Linked DNA regions of Homo sapiens: region 1 is linked to region 2. The links are contacts of gene promoters, found by promoter capture Hi-C in human tissues and cell types (Jung and others, 2019). All regions are on one chromosome and are shown on one strand. Each heading gives the region's core, a stretch centred on a gene start or on the middle of the fragment in contact. The rest is flanking DNA. Distances are from core to core; before and after follow the strand shown. Region 1 overlaps STXBP6 (syntaxin binding protein 6). Region 2 holds the start of STXBP6 (syntaxin binding protein 6).

What was found. Contacts are between HindIII fragments. The study calls those that stand out against the background at their distance.
Region 1: a contact is called between a fragment that was not itself captured here and the fragment with the promoter of STXBP6 in region 2, in 7 of the 25 tissues and cell types used here (H1 embryonic stem cells, IMR-90 fibroblasts, dorsolateral prefrontal cortex and 4 more).

Annotation. Positions count from the first base shown.
Region 1 is chr14:24,971,861-24,975,128 of GRCh38, forward strand. STXBP6 (syntaxin binding protein 6) reads right to left here. Exons shown (of 6, transcript NM_001394410.1): 2 at 2,805-2,990. The coding sequence starts at 2,958. Among named protein-coding and RNA genes, the nearest start is that of STXBP6, 77 kb to the right of the region's middle. The HindIII fragment of the contact is 4,072 bases long and covers 1-3,268 here.
Region 2 is chr14:25,048,652-25,052,126 of GRCh38, forward strand. It overlaps STXBP6 (syntaxin binding protein 6), which reads right to left and starts at 1,496. Exons shown (of 6, transcript NM_001394410.1): 1 at 1,227-1,496. It overlaps LOC124903295 (a long non-coding RNA gene), which reads left to right and starts at 1,693. Exons shown (of 2, transcript XR_007064091.1): 1 at 1,693-1,783. The HindIII fragment of the contact is 10,437 bases long and covers 1-3,475 here.

The sequences.
Region 1 (3,268 bases), core at 584-3,083, 76 kb before region 2:
TAGGTAAGATGCATGAATTCTTTTCATAGCGGTACCCACGGAACATAGAATGCTTGGCACAGAAAAATTCTTAATAAATATTTGACTAATTAATTGCTAATTAAAACATTACCTTATCAGGGATGTAACTGATATGCCTCTAAGCTTTGCACAAGTTAAAAAATAAGGGTGGCTGCTTCTTTGTCACTTACAAGAAACATCAAACTGCAAAAATCTTGGGTGTCAAAGTTGCCTGCCCTTCTCCTGCCCCCATTTCCACTACACTGTCTGCTTAAATGTCAGATCTACTTTATCAATCTATCCTCTCAAGATTCAAAACCATGAAAAGACTGAAGAACAAAAGATTTTCCTCCATTAGAATGCAACAAAAAAGCAATTGTCATAGTTTTGGACTTTAAACCTGAAGGTCTTGGTAATTTGCAAAGGAAATACAGTTATTCCGTAAGTCCCAGGTCATTATCTTCTATGGCAGGGGAAATGAAATGGTTATGCTATTTCACTGAGATGAGGCTGTTAGAGTCCCTATATCACTCTTGCAGGCTTCATGATCAAAATTAGGCAGACAACAGTATATGCCTAAAATGCAAACAACTATTCTTCAATTATACATAGGTACTAGGCAAAATTCAAGTAGCTTCTAGACCGTCTACCTTTCTTTCAACTACTCATCTATAAGAAATGTCAATGAAATATTGAGAAAATAGAGCTTAACAAAATTAGAATCACTAGGTATCCATACTAGGCCGATGTTCAGCTCAGCTCAAATGCAAATCAGTCTTTATTTAAGTGTATTCTATTCATTGTTTGCGTAAGCAGAACTGTGGAATCTAAATTTAAGAATATGAAAATATTTTTAAGACCTGGGCTGGGTGTGATAGCTCATGCCTGTAATCCCAGCACTTTTGGAGGCCAAGGGGAAATGACTGTTTGAAGACCAGCCTGGGCAACATAACAAGACCCCATTGCTACAAAAACTACAAAAATGGTGGTTTATCCCTGTAATCCCAGCACTTTGGGAGACCTAAGTAGGAGGATTGCTTGAGCCCAGGAGTTCGAGACCAGCCTAGGCAACAGAGTGAGAACTCATCTTTACAAAAAAATACAAACATCAGCTGGGCATGGTGTTGTGTGCCTGCAGTCCCAGCTCTTGGGAGGCTGAGGCAGGAGGATCGATTGAACCCAAGGAGGTCAAGGCTACAGTGAGCCATGGTTGTGCTACTACACTCCAGCCTGGGCAACAGAGTGAGACCCTGTCTCAAAACAAAACAAAACACACTTGAATTTCATTAACAAAATTCTAGGAAAGTATTAGGTGAGGCTACTTCTTTCTTCCACTTAGTCACTAGATATTAATTGAGGCCCTAGAATATGCCCGGCACTGCTTAGCGCACTAAAGAAATACAAATATCTTCTGACAATAACCCAATTTTTTTATTAACCTAATCCTTATTTGGAATAAACAGAAACCAATGTTTCAAGGTCAATTCTCTCACACTTATTTAAATAAAAGCTTTCTTCCTTTTTTTTTTTTTTTTTTTTTTTTGAGACAGAGTCTCACTCTGTCAGCCAGGCTGGAGTGCAGTGGTGTGATCTCGGCTCACTGCAACCTCTGCCTCCTGGGTTCAAGCAATTCTCCTGTCTCAGCCGCCTGAGTAGCTGGGAGTACAGGTGAGTGCCATCATGCCTGGCTAATTTTTTTATTTTTAATAGAGACAGGGTTTCACTATGTTGGCCAGGCTGGTCTTGAACTCCTGACCTCAGATGATCCTCCTGCCTTGGCCTCCCAAAGTGCTGAGCATTATAGGCATGAGCCACCGCGCCTGGCCCTTTGAAAAATAATTCTTACCAAAGTGCTATGTTCTTACTTCATTTTAATCTAAGACACAGTCTTAGAAATTTACATGTTCTTTCTGGTAAAAAGTTACTTTTACCCTAAAATAAATTCTGATAAATGATCAAAGGTTTAATTTTTTAAAAAGCTAGAAATGGGTCCAAAAACATAAAGTTTTATTCCCAAAACTACAATTGAAGGAAAGTTTTTAAAAAGATAAACTAAAATAAGCTTAAATCTTCCATCACTCCATACAAGAAATATTATCAGAAATATCACAAATGCTCCATGTGTTTAGATTAGCATCACCAATAACTCCATGAAAAATTTATCCAGATTTTATCTCAAAAATCTTAATACGAATCCATTGTAAATCCCACAGATCTCCTACAATCACAAACAGAAAGAGAAAGAAAAAAAAAAAACAAGATTCAAAGCTTAATAAAACAGATGCCTCTTCTTGACAAGGCAATGGCTGTCAGGCAAAGCAACGACTTGTGAACTGAATCAACCTCCTCACATTCCATAAGGTGCCAATATTTATCTTAAGACAAGTGATTACTGATTATTGGCAACTGTCTAGAAAAACAAAGCCAATGAAAGTCAGGCTGTGAGTAATGACAATTATTCAGATACCAGCAACTGTTCTAAAACGAGAATTCCAGAGGATAGCCCATTCTCTGTCAGTGTCCCCGTGAGGGCAAGTATGGACAAACAAGTCTGCGAAACATTTTACGAAAGCTCTTAATGAACTGGAAAATACACCCGAATTGAACTTCACTACCTTTCCAATACGCGGCAACCTCAAAAACAAGGTGTCACCAGTAAAGAGGAAGACCAGAAAAACGGGGAAAAGGAGCAAGACAGTGCAGACACCTACAAAACCTGTGAATGTAAACCTCCTGGATACCTCAGAATGAACTGTTTTAAAATGGAAGTTATTTTAATAATATTAATATCTGGTTCTCATTACCTGACAGGCAGATATAAGTTAAATATTCGCCTTGACCTCCAGTTGCCAAGAAAGGAATCTTTTTCTTTGTCCTCCTCTTGACTTGGACAGCTCCCAGCATCCTTTCATCAAGAGGTGCAAAAATTTCCTTGCTGATAGCAGATTTGGCACTCATTGTAGAACAAGTGAGGACAGCACGCAGTGAATCTTTTAAAGAAGGAAAAGAAAGGAAAGTTGGAATTGACAACATTGTAAGGGTTCATACAATAATCAGCAGCAAGTGAATTTGCAGGTGAAGTAATTTTCAATTTACAGTTTAATCTCATAATTGCTTGAAATGTATTATAGAAACATTAAAAGCAAGGTCTTCATATTTGTAATAACTATGAAAAAATAAAGACAAAAAGGGGGTACTTATTTACTTCCCAAAAATGTCAAACACAATATGAGATGAGTAGTACAAACTGGGATCTGGAAAGTTTGTT
Region 2 (3,475 bases), core at 246-2,745:
TATTTCTAGCCTGCATAATCATTTCTGGACCGATTCCCACTAGCAGCCTCTGAGACGAACAGCAGCTCACAGCCTCGGCTGAAGCTCCTCCACCCCCAGGGTGGCTCTGACTAGGGCGCAGCTCTGACTAGTGTGCAGGCAAAACCCCAAAACTCAAAACAAGAAGTGAAAAAAGTGGAGCCAGGAAAAATTCGTCGGCATCCTCCACAGCCTTACAATCCGCACAATGCCAGTTCCAGGGTCCTGGGGTCGCCCGGAAGGCAATCTTAGGAGAGGGTGGAATGAGATGGAAGTTCCTGCGGACCTACCGATCCTATTCTCTCCCACCCAGTCCCTAGGGAAGCGTAATAGGAAGGGGAGAAGGTTCGTTATGAAATCCTGGGGCCAGAACCAAGGGCAGATACACCCCGGGGACTTTCTCCTAAAGAACAAGATGTCTTTCCAAATTCTCCACCTGCAGGTCCTGTCCTCTGTGAAGATGAACGGGGTGGGGTGGTGAGGTGGCGGGGTGTTGTAAACCTGAGGAAAGGTTGGAGGGAAAATCAAGCCACCCACCTACTCCAGCCACGTTGCCCGGCGGTGTTGGTGAGGCTCGATGCCGGCGTGCACGGCAAGCGCGAATTCGGAACCTGGCGCCCTTGACCAAGCCTGAGATCGGAAAGGGGGCATCGCCCAGGGCCAGCGCCCTGGGGGCAGGGTGCCGTGCCCGCCAGAAAAGCTCGCCTCAGTTTTGGCAGTAATGATTTTCCTAGAAGATGCCAGAGTTCGCGAAGATCGGAGTGATTCGCGGATTTCTGCGCTCAAGCTAGAGGCGCAGCGACCCCGAGCTCCCCCACACTGGGAGCCTCGGGGCAGCATTCTCGGGGCCCATGCCATCGCGGGGACGGTGCGGAAAAAAAGGCTCCATCCTCAACTTTCTCGGAGGAAATCGCTCCGTTCTGCGGCTTGCCCAATACTGCCCGCACAACGGGTCCCAGGGTTGGAGAGAACCAGGGACACGAGTCCCTCTCTGCGCGCACAAAGCAGCTGCGCCGGGGCGCGCGGCCCCCTCTCCCGCCACCCGCCAACTTGGAAGAATCTCTCTGGGAGCCTGCCTACTCCCCTGGCCTCACAGCCACCCGCCTCGGACGGAGCGCCAGGCGCCCCAACAGCCGTGGCGGCTGCAACCGCATCTCCCGGGCTTGGCCTCCGCCCTGACCGCCTGGCTCCCCTCGCCCCGGTCCTACCGTGCAGCCTGGCTCGCGCCCCTGCCGTGCCAGTGCGCGGCACGCGTCCCAGAGCACGAGGCTCCTCCCCGGGGGGCTGCCCCGCGCGGGGCTCCGGGCTCCGGACAAGGCTTAGCCGGCCCGGGTGCTGGCTCGCCGCCGCTCGCGGCTCCCGCGCCGGCTCCTGCTGCCGCGCGCGAAAAGGGAGGGGTTGGGGGGAAACTCCCGGCAACTCCAACTCCGGGCGCTGGAGCTCCAGCTGCAGCCGCGCGCCCGCCCGCCGCCGAGTGCGAGCGCCTGCGAAGCAAACCTGCCCGCGCGGCCGCCTCTGAGCATGCTCAGTGCCGCCGTGGGCGAGCCCGAGCGCCCTGGCCCGGGGCAAAGAGCAGCGGCTAGGGGCTGGGGGCTGGGGGCCGGGACCCGCGACCCGCCCCAGGCCTCGGAGCGCGGAGGTGGCAGAGGAAGGGAAAGGCCAATGTAGGGGCGGGGGCCCTGAGCCAAAGACCCGGGAGAAACCGATCTGGGTGCAAGAGCCGGTGCGACTTTCACGGCTTGTGGGAAGTTTGTGGGCTAGAAAGGTGGGCTGCTTCTGTGAGCTTCTCTGTGAGACTATATTCGAAAGGACAACCAGGAAACATTTTTTTTTTTCTCTAGGAAAAAACGAATAGACCCAGCCGATGGGTTTTTATCCTGTGCGCTCCTTCCTTTATTCTTACGATAGCAAACTCAAAGATCTAATGGGGCCTGACAGGCACTGTAACTGGGGGAAGGCGAACTGGAGAGAGCTCCGAAGGCAGGGCCGCTTATCTGCTCTCAGGGTCCCTTGCTATCGGGCAAGAATTAGACCTAGTGTTGCTAGATTTTCTGATTTTTCCAGAAATGACGGAGTATATTCATGTACAATATCCTGATTTGTAAAATCTTGATAACAAATTCAATTTTCTCAAAACACCCTGGACTAAACAAAACATATCTGCGTCCCCTCCCTGCTGAACCCCCCAGACAGTGATTTGAGCATTGTGATTCTGCACTCTTTTAGCGAAGTGGTGCTGAGTGCTCACTGTGGTTTGGGAAAGTGCTGGAAAGGATCCAAGATGATTCAGAATATCTTCGAAGTACTACTAGTTACTAGGGGAAATGGGTTTTCCTGACAGTAGAGCGCTACACTTAAATGCTGGAGCGTTCAAGAAGAAAGACGTTACTAATGTAGAAAGCGGTTGTAAGAACTAACTTTTGGGAAACATCATTAGTAAAAGTATCTGTGTGGGGAGTCACTGCAGGGCCGATAACAGTGCCCCGGAAGGCACTTTTGAGCCTGAAGCAATAGGAAAAACCCCTAAACTTACCCTGTCTTTATTTAAAATTTTGTTATTTTTCATCATGCATTTTTGATATTAATTTTGATTTTTTTAAATATTCCATTAAAATATTAACCTTGATTACTGAATTCTTTGGTGAACCTTTAAGTGCTGTGACTCACCTCACCCTAGCCTGGCCCTGTTGGGGTGTTAGATGGTGGTACACAGACCTGCTTGTTTGGAGTGCAAGGGGTAAGCATTAGCATAGTGAAATAGGAAAGAGGGTTTGAGCTGTGGATGGGGGCTCAGGCAGAAGTCCTGACTGTCAGTCTGTGGCTCCTGCACTTAGTTTGTAGACTACGTGGAGATAGCAGAGATGCTGGGGGAGGAGACAATCCGAACTGAATTCTGTGAAGATGGACAGGGCAGCAGACCCAGGAAGATGGTTTGGAGGGGAAGAATGGGAGAAACGGGGATACCTAGGATATCATAAAACTGATACCCTAGGTATCCCCATTTGGTAGCTACAGTTTTATGAAAATCAGAGAAAATTGCCTGAAAAAGTAAGTTTCTTTTGCTCTGCCTATCTCTGTAGAGACATGTCATGGGGCTACCTTAGTGCCAATGAGTAGTGTGCCGGGGTCCTGGTCTTAACCTCAGCCATTTCCCTACCAGGCTTCCATGGGCAAGTGGCTCAACCTCTAAGCTTCACTTTCCTCATCTGTGGAAGGGAAAACAATTCTCATGGCGTTTTTGTGAGAATCCAAAGAAATGTATGTCTAAGGGCTTTGAAAATGTTGAGAGTTCTTACCTACAAGTCATCTATGTAAAATTTGAATTGAAATAAGGGCCTTTTTGCTTGACAAAAGCTCTAAGTAGCAAGCTTCTTTAATTTAGCAAGCCTTTCTAATGTGTTGGGATGATATTTACAAAACTTTGGAATCAGCTTTTGGGTAACTCAATAATTTTGTG